Linked DNA regions of Homo sapiens: region 1 is linked to region 2. The links are contacts of gene promoters, found by promoter capture Hi-C in human tissues and cell types (Jung and others, 2019). All regions are on one chromosome and are shown on one strand. Each heading gives the region's core, a stretch centred on a gene start or on the middle of the fragment in contact. The rest is flanking DNA. Distances are from core to core; before and after follow the strand shown.

The links. The method cuts DNA at HindIII sites, captures the fragments that hold promoters and counts their contacts. A contact is called where the count stands out against the background at its distance.
Region 1: a contact is called between a fragment that was not itself captured here and the fragment with the promoter of TAS2R10 in region 2, in 2 of the 25 tissues and cell types used here (psoas muscle and small bowel).

What each region holds. Positions count from the first base shown.
Region 1 is chr12:10,787,033-10,791,942 of GRCh38, reverse strand. No RefSeq gene overlaps it. Among named protein-coding and RNA genes, the nearest start is that of TAS2R7, 13 kb to the left of the region's middle. The HindIII fragment of the contact is 8,880 bases long and covers 1-4,910 here.
Region 2 is chr12:10,824,286-10,829,501 of GRCh38, reverse strand. TAS2R10 (taste 2 receptor member 10) reads left to right here and starts at 3,144. Exons shown (of 1, transcript NM_023921.2): 1 at 3,144-4,283. The coding sequence starts at 3,233. The coding sequence ends at 4,156. The HindIII fragment of the contact is 9,660 bases long and covers 2,147-5,216 here.

The sequences.
Region 1 (4,910 bases), core at 360-2,859, 36 kb after region 2:
AAAAATGGTTTCAGGGGCTGGCCCCAGGGCCGCCCTGTTGTGTGCAGCCTAGGGACTTAGTGCCCTGCATCCCAGCTGCTCCAGCCATGGCTAAAAGGGGCCAAGGTACAGCTCAGGTCATGGCTTCAGGGGGTACAAGCCCCAAGTTTTGGCAGCTTCCATGTGGTGTTGAGTCTGCAGGTGCACAGAAGTCAATAATTGAGGTTTGGGAACCTCCACCTAGATTTCAGAGAATGTGTGGAAATGCGTGGATGTCCAGGCAGAGGTGTGCTGCAGGGGCTGGGCCCTCATGGAGAACTTCTGCTAAGGCAGTGTGGAAGGGAAATGTGGGGTTGGAGACCTCACACAGAGTCCCCACTTGGGCACTGCCTAGTGGAGCTGTGAGAAGAGGGTCACCATCCTCTACACCCCAAAATGGTAGATCCACCAACAACTTGCACCATGTACCTGGAAAAACTGCAGACACTCAACACCAGCCTGTGAAAGCAGTCAAGAGGGAGGTTGTACCTTGCAAACCCACAGAGGCGGAGCTGCCCAGGGCTGTGGCAGCCCACCTTTTGCATCAGCATAACCTAGATGTGAGACATGGAATCAAAAGAGATCATTTTGGAGCTTTAAGATTTGACTGCCCCATTGGATTTTGGACCTGCATGGGGCCTGTAGCCCCATGCTGTGGGCAATTTCTCCCATTTGGAATGGGTGTATTTACCCAATGCCTGTACTGCCACTGTATCTGGAAAGTAACTAAATTGCTTTTAATTTTACAGGTTCCTAGGTGGAAGAGACTTGCCTTGTCTCAGATGAGACTTTAAACTGTTGACTTTTGAGTGAATGCTGAAATGACTTAAGACTTTGGGGGACTGCTGGGAAGGTATGATTGGTTTTGAAATGTGAGGACATGAGATTTGGGAGGGGGCGGGATGATATGGTTTGGCTGTGTCCCCACCCACATCTTACTTCGAATTGTAATAATCCCCATGTGTTAAGGGCAGGCTCAGGTGGAGGTAATTGAATCACTGGGGCAGTTACCCTTATGCTGCTCTCGTGATAATGAGCGAGTTCTCACAAGATCCGATAGTTTTATATGAAGCTTTTCCCCCTTTTGCTCGGCACTTCTCTTGCCTGCCGTCATGTAAGAGACGTCTCTGCTCCTCCTTTACCTTCCACCTTGATTGTGAGGCCTCCCTAGCCATGTGAAACTGTGAGTCTATTGAATCTCTTTTTCTTTATAAATTACCCAGTCTCAGGTATGTCTTTATTAGCAATGTGAGAGCACACTAATACAGTTCTCTATATAGGTGTATTGTTTTTTAATCTTTTATACTATATTTTTACTATACCTTTTCTATGCTTAGTATGCACAAATACAACTCTGTTACAAGTGCCTACAGTTTTCAGTGCAGTGACATGCTGTACAAGTTTGTAGTCTAGGAGCAATAGGCTGCACCATATAGCCTAGGTGTGTAGTAGGCTATGCCACCTAGGTTTTTGTGAGTACACTAAATCATGTTCACACAATGATAAAATCACCTAACAACACATTTTTCAGGTGTATTGCCATCATTAAACAATGCATGACTGTATTTTATTTTATAGAAGTATCCAGGTAGTAGAGAGAGGTGGGTACAGTTATTCACAAGGAAATAAAATTCAGGCTTGCCTAATAAACATAAAAAACAATAATATATGACACATAAAGTTAAGGAATTGTACACTAAAGCTAGGAGATGCCATTTTCTAAATGTGAAATCAGCAGGGGTGACGTATTTGGTGAAAAGTATCAATTAATACAAACAACTTGGAAAAAGATTTGGCAGTAGGTACTAAAGCCAAACATGCCCATATTCTATGACCTAGCAATTTTTGTTCCAGAAATAGACACAACAGTAATGTAAGATATGTGCACTAAAAAATGTGTATGATTATTAACAGTATGATTTGAAATAGCCCAAATTAGAAATAACTCATATGCCTGTCAGCAGGAAAATAGATGAGTAAATTGTAGTATAGTCATGGAATGGAATATTATATAGCAATGAAAATAACACTACTCCTACCATACTCATAGAAAATGCTGAGTGAAAGAAACTGAACTGGGAAGAGTAAATATTATATTGTTACACTTTACATAAAGTTTGAAACAGTAAAACTAATCAACATGAAAGATATGTGTACAGGCAGTGGAGAGTAGTATCTGAGAAACAGTACAAGGGATTCCTTTGGAGTGTTATAATATAATGTAAAATATTCGTGTATGACTTAGTGAGCTGGACTGCATTACATAGATGTGTTTGCTGTATAAATATCTGTAAATCTGCATAGTTATAATTTGTACATTTTTCTAGAGGTATATTACATTTTAACAATATTTACTTAAAAATTATTAATTACATGATATACATTTGTGTACACTATATAATTTGTTTAAAACTTTGTTAGTAAGAATATAGGAAGCAGCCATTCTCTTATACCTTTGGGGAGTTCAAATTGATGCAATTTTTGGAAGACCAGTTGTACAAACTATCAACATGTAAAGTGTGCCTGGTGTTTTATCCAGAAATCTCAGTCTTAGAATTTATCCTGCAACTATTATTGCATAATAGGTAAATAAATGAATAAGAAATTTTATTGCAGCACTGCTTATAATAGCAAAATACTGGTAACAATATAAATGTTCATCAAATTTGTTAAATAACTTATAGATCACCAATACAAAAAATATATAATTCAGTTATTAAAAAGAATTCAGGAGATATAAATGTGTGGCATGCATATGGAATTATATCCTAACTATATTATTAAATAAAAACAAAGATTAGCATGATCCCATTTCTACATAAAAGGAATATGTATACACATATATATAATGATTTTTTCACTCAGCATTTTGTTGAATGTAGCAGTAGTGTGTTCATTTTCATTTTTATTAATAGCAGTGACCATTTTTCTTTCATTTTCATTAATATAAATTGGTGTAAAACTAAGTGCAGTTTTGCCATCACTTACTTTTGCACCAACCTAATATATGCATATATATATGAGACAGATTTGTGTTCAGAAAATATTTCAAATTACAGACAAAAATGTTATTAGTGATGTATTTCTGGAAATGAAATTGTGGTGGAAGTCAGTAAGACTTTTTCTGTTTATGCTCCTATGTTGTTTAAACATTAATGATAAGTTTTAACATTTTTAAAATACTGTTAAAAATGAAGACCCTAGCCAGCAAGCTGTAGTCTAATAAAATGAAAAAGAACTACCCTGCAATTTGCCTTAAGTCTTAACTTCCCACTTCCTGATTTGCTTCTGCCAGGTTCAGATCTTGGCCTTTAAGCATCACTTGAAGTCTAGTTTTTGCTCCAGTAAACACTTGACACCTTCCTTTCTATCATCCAATAATTAAATTGTTTTAGCCTTTAATTCCACATGGCTCTATGAGGCTTTGACCTTTACCTGCTTTCACTGATAATTGACCTTCATTTTACTCCCTAAAGCCTTCTTCCAAATGTAACTTTTACCTTCACCCCCTGCTCTTTAGAATTAATGAGTCATGATCTTGATTTTAATATTCATATGCCCAAACTTGAGACTGACAATATATGCCCAAAGTATTGTGTAAGCCCTTTTAGCCATCTTATTATTTAATCTAATCCTGACAACCTTGCAAAATAGGTACTATTATCATTCCAATGTTGTAAGAAATAAATTGAGGTATAGATTATATTTATCTCTATTACAAAGCAGCAGTAATCAAAACATTATGGTGCTGGCATAATAACAAGCATATAGACTAATGGGACAGAATAGAATCCAGAAAGAAATTCATGCATTTATATTCAACTAATCTTTGACAAGGATTTCAAGAACACACAATGGGGAAAAGGATAGTCTCTTCAATAAATGCTGTTGGGAGAACTGGATATCCACATGTGGAAGAATGAAAGTAAACACTTATCTCACACCATCTATAAAAATGCACTCAAAATGAACTAAAGGTGAGATCAGAAACTGTAACCCTACTTTTAAAAAAAACATAGAGGCTGGGCGCGGTGGCTCATGCCTATAATCCCAGCACTTTGGAAGGCCGAGGTAAGTGGATCACAGGGTCAGGAGTTGAAGACCAGCCTGGCCAACATGGTGAAACTTGGTCTCTACTAAAAATACAAAAATTAGCCTAGTGTGGTGGCACACACCTGTAGTCCCAGTTACTCGGGAGGCTGAGGCAGAAGAATTGCATGAACCCAAGAGATAGAGGTTGCAGTGAGCTGAGATCGCACCACTGCACTCTAGCCTGGGTGACAGAGCAAGACTCTGTCTCAAAAAAAAAAACAAAAAAAAAAAAACATAGAACAAAACTTCTTGACATTGGTCTGGGCAATGATTTTTTGGATATGATCCCAAAAACACAGATGACAAAAGCAAAAATAAGGAAGTGAGCCTACATCAAAATAAAGACTTCTGCACAGCAAAGGAAAATAATCAACAAAGTGAAGGAAACAGCCTGCAGAAAGGGATAAAATATTTGCAAACCATGTATCTGATTAAGAATTAATATCCCAAATACATAAGGAACTCAAACAACTACCTAGCAAAAAACAACCCAATAACCCGATTAAACAATGGGCAAAGGACCTGAATAGACATTTCTAAAAATACAACATACAAATGGCCAACAGGTCAATGAAAAGGTGCTCAACATCACAAAGCATTAGGGGAATGCATATCAAAACTGCAGTGAGATATCACCTTATAACTATCAGAATGACTATTACCAAAAGACAAAATAAAAGTTTGAGCAAGGATGTGGAGAAAAGGGAACCCCTGTACACTGTTGGTGGAATTGTCAATTAGTACAGCCATTATGGAAAACCATATGGATGTTCTTCAAAGATTTTTGAAAAAGAAGTACC
Region 2 (5,216 bases), core at 1,895-4,394:
TATTTCATTTTAATCTCACAATTGGCTTTTAAAACTCCATTTGTTATAATGAATTATTCTTTTATATATCGCTGGACTCTATTTTGTTTGGAATTTTTGCATCTATGTTCAGGCTATATTAGCCTGTAATAGTCTTATAAGTATTCTTGATGAAATTTTGTATAAAGTTGTTCACAGTATTGTCTTATAATAAAAGATTATATACAAGGATATGTAACTATATTATATAGTATTATATATATATATATATGTATATGTATATATATATATGTATATATATGTATGTATAGAGAGAGAGAGAGAGAGACAGAGAAAGAGAGAGAGAGAGATGAGGTCTCACTCTGTCACCCAGGCTGGAGTGCAGTGGCCCAATTATAGCTCACTGCAAGTTCAAACTCCTGGGCTCAGGCAATCCTCCTGCTCGGCCTCCCAAGTAGCTGGGACTACAGGTGCACACCACCATGCCCTGCTAAATTATTTTTATTTATTTATTTTTTTTAGTAGAGATAAGGTCTTGCTATGTTTCCCAGGCTGGTCTCAAACTCCTGGACTCAAGTGATTCTCACACCTGGGCCTCCCAAAGTGCTGAAATGACAGGCATTAGCTACCACACCCAGGCCATATTTCTGATATCTCTAAGGACTGTAGTAATTTGTATTTTCTTTTGACCAACATTAGTATATTACTGTACCTAATTCTTTTCTATCGGTGATTTCTGCTGTTACTATAATTTCTTGACTTCTATTTTCTTTCACTCTTAGCTTTCTAGCTTCTTGAGATGAAAACAAAATTCATCTGTTTTTACCCTGCCTTTCTAAAAGATGCATTCAAGGCTACAAATTTCCTTCAAAGAATGGCTTTAATTGGATTATGTAAATTTTAATAGGTCATTTCTTTATTACACGTTGAGTATCCCTAATCCAAAAATCTGAAATTTGAAATGCTCCAAAATCTGAAACTCTTTGAGCGCTGACATGACGCTCAAAGGATATGCTCATTGGAACATTTTGGATTTCAAATTTTTGAATTCGAGATGCTTAATCAGTATGATGCAAATGTTCCAAAACTTAAAAAAAAAGAAAAAAAAATCCGAAATCCAAAGCTCTCTGGTCTCACACATTTCAGATAAGGGATACACAACCTGTATTATTTACTTAAAAATATTTTTGTAATTTTTGTTATTTCTTCTTTGACTCAAGAGTATTTACAGGTTTTTTGTCTTAGTAAATTGTTTCTTTCTCTAGTTATCTTTTTATTATTGAACTTCATTTTATTCCTTTGAATTCAGAGAACATTCAACACTTGTGAGATATTCTTTTGGATTCATGATCAGTCTTGGTAAAAATAGTCTATGTGCACTTGAAAAGAATATGAATTATTTTACCGTTGAACACAAGTTTGTCAATTGTTTTTTCATGTATTTTCCATCTATTGATTTTTGGTGTTTCTAAGATGAGTTATTGAGTTATGTATTTTACAGTCTTTCATTGTGATTGTAGATTTGTCTTATTTTTCCTTTTCTGTAAATGTTTGGTAGATTATTTGGTTCATAAATTTTTGGGATTACCCTACCTTTCTGTAGATTTGAGCATTTTTATCACTATAAAGTACACTCCCCATTTCTTCTCTAATGCTGCTTCTTACCTTAAAGTCTGCTTTATAGAATATTGTTATAATTATGCCAGATTTCTTTTGGATGATGTTTGCATGGCTTATTTTTCCATAATTTTACTTTAAAGTTTTCCTTTTCTATATTTAAATTGTGTTTCTTGTAAGCAGTATACAGTCAGAGTTTTAAATTCTTCTTTGTTACTATTAATTTTTTACTTGGAGTATTTAGTTCATTTACATTTTATATAATTATATTCTCCATTTCTAGAAGTTTTTTCCCCAAATGTTCCAATTTCTTTCTAACAGTCTCTTGCTGCTCTTCTCTGAAATTGCATCTTGTTTTTTGTAAACAGTGTATACATTAGCTAATTTATCTATACATATTCTTATCTGTCAATTTCAGTATGTGCAGCCCATGAGAATTTAAGTTTTCTACTTGCTTTTGGTTGGTTTGTTTTGTTTTGCTATCATTTGTAGTCTATTCCTAAGCTTAATTTAACTTCATTTTGAAATCATTGTGCAATTTTATTTATGGTAGTCATGCCAGGATAAGTGAGAGAAGGTCTTCTTTTCTCCAAAGCTTAGTTTATTCATATTTAATGTAAATACAAAAATAGCCCCTCTTTTAAAGGATTGAAGGCTTGTGAAATTAAGATGAGAAAAAGATACTTAACATAGCGCTAGGAATATAATAAAAGCTCAATAAATGTTAGATTTCACTTTTAATTTCACTTTTAATTCTTAGATCAGTATGTTGATTTACTTAATTGTTTCCCACCTCCCTCATTAGAATATACACTCCATAAATCACACAAGTTTTGAAATTCTGTCTACCACTATATTCCCTCAAAGATCAAAAGAGAGCTTGTTGTATCTAGACATTCAGTAAATACTTGTTGGATAAATGAATGGGTGCCAGCAAACAGTAATGTGTTAAATGAAGAGATTATTCCTAAGAGCCTTTCATGTCAAGGGTAGTCAACATAATCTTCTGCATTCAAGGGTGTAATAACCATAAGTATAAAACAACAGCAACAGATTTGTGACATATTTGTGAAACTTGTCATACCTAGAGTTGAGCTTAAATTTTAATTAAAAATTAAATCGATCATTTAGAGTAAGTATCTACAGTGGCTAAATTTGTTTTTCATTTCTATATAGTATTTTCTGTACATATATAAATTGATTATAAATGACATAAATAATGATTTGATATTTTAAAAGATAAAGTCAAAATTTTTGTTTCTGTTTTGCATTACATTCTATAGGTATATGTTTGGCACTCCTCCTCCACAATTCAATTTATTAAATGCAAAATAGTCTCAGGAGGACATGTAAAATCCATGAAACAGAAACTTTCATTTGCATTTTAACAAATTATAGATAGGCATTCAGTCTGAACATACATTCTCCAGACTAGCTATGTTTTGTAGACATATTTGGAAAGGTCTTCATTAAGAAATTTCTGATTCCATCTCAAGCCATTACTGGGGCAATTTCAAGTCTTTATATAATGAAAGAGAAGAAAGTCACACTTCCGTCGAGCAGCCAATATATGCCTCATTCTGCAGCAGGTAATCTAAGATAGATGTAACAGAAGCAATATTAAGAATTAGCAGATATGCTACGTGTAGTGGAAGGCATCTTCATTTTTGTTGTAGTTAGTGAGTCAGTGTTTGGGGTTTTGGGGAATGGATTTATTGGACTTGTAAACTGCATTGACTGTGCCAAGAATAAGTTATCTACGATTGGCTTTATTCTCACCGGCTTAGCTATTTCAAGAATTTTTCTGATATGGATAATAATTACAGATGGATTTATACAGATATTCTCTCCAAATATATATGCCTCCGGTAACCTAATTGAATATATTAGTTACTTTTGGGTAATTGGTAATCAATCAAGTATGTGGTTTGCCACCAGCCTCAGCATCTTCTATTTCCTGAAGATAGCAAATTTTTCCAACTACATATTTCTCTGGTTGAAGAGCAGAACAAATATGGTTCTTCCCTTCATGATAGTATTCTTACTTATTTCATCGTTACTTAATTTTGCATACATTGCGAAGATTCTTAATGATTATAAAACGAAGAATGACACAGTCTGGGATCTCAACATGTATAAAAGTGAATACTTTATTAAACAGATTTTGCTAAATCTGGGAGTCATTTTCTTCTTTACACTATCCCTAATTACATGTATTTTTTTAATCATTTCCCTTTGGAGACACAACAGGCAGATGCAATCGAATGTGACAGGATTGAGAGACTCCAACACAGAAGCTCATGTGAAGGCAATGAAAGTTTTGATATCTTTCATCATCCTCTTTATCTTGTATTTTATAGGCATGGCCATAGAAATATCATGTTTTACTGTGCGAGAAAACAAACTGCTGCTTATGTTTGGAATGACAACCACAGCCATCTATCCCTGGGGTCACTCATTTATCTTAATTCTAGGAAACAGCAAGCTAAAGCAAGCCTCTTTGAGGGTACTGCAGCAATTGAAGTGCTGTGAGAAAAGGAAAAATCTCAGAGTCACATAGACACCTTGGGAAGAGATGGATGTTCCACGAAAGGAATCCAGTGAATAAATCCTTGAAGATCTGTTTCATTGCACTGCATTCTTGCATTGTCTTTTTAACTGTGTCATTAAAGATCACTGAAATCTTCCATAATTGTTTTGACTATGTTTCAGGGAATCTCAGTCTTTGAGGAGATTTTAATCTCACATGCAAATTCAGTGGCTTAGTCAGCTTCCCCACCCTGCAACTTCTTCCTACAAACTTCCTAGAGGAAGACCATCAGCCTGGAGACTATTCGCTGTAAAGATTATAACGGTGAGAATAAGCTCTAAAATAAAACTTCTTGTTGTGCTTTACCTGACTTTTCTGAAGCAAGGACACCCATTCTCCCAGAAAACCCAAAGGAAAAAAAAGAAAGAAAGAAAATTAGATCAATCTTGACATTTAGAACATGGAAGTGAGGATAGATGGTGGTACTTCTTTACAGAATGCTATTTTAATTATTTAAAGGTTTTTTTTTCATTTTTTAGAATCTAACATCCTTTTTTACTGGTGTACGATGTGTAGCAAGTAGTCAGAGGAGTAGATGTAGTTCTGTGAAATATAGTTAGGGAAACAAGGGTCTAGTTGAGGGATATGGGATCAAAACACTGATGAAATAAATATGCTCTTCAAAATCAGTGATTTGAGATAAGGCAGGTTATGAACCAATTAAAGTTGAGTAAAGATTTTTCTAGAAGCATCGATCCAAAGGCTGCAAGATTCAACACAGTCCCTGACCAAAGGACACAAGATGAACACAGGATAGAATCTGGGTGAAATATGAAATGTTCTGTCTTCAGGCTTCATACACACACACACATAAACATGCACACACACACATTCATATACACAAACTTGCACTCACAGAAACGTTTCAAATTTTGAGTTTTAAAGTTAACTTTTATGTCCAACCCAGGTTATAAACTCAGTGACTTATTTTGGCAACTTCCGAAAGTGCCTTGATCTCATACTTATGGCCTAATGAGTGGAATATTTCCAAATATAAGGACTTAATTAATTTTCTATGTCAGGTTTCCAA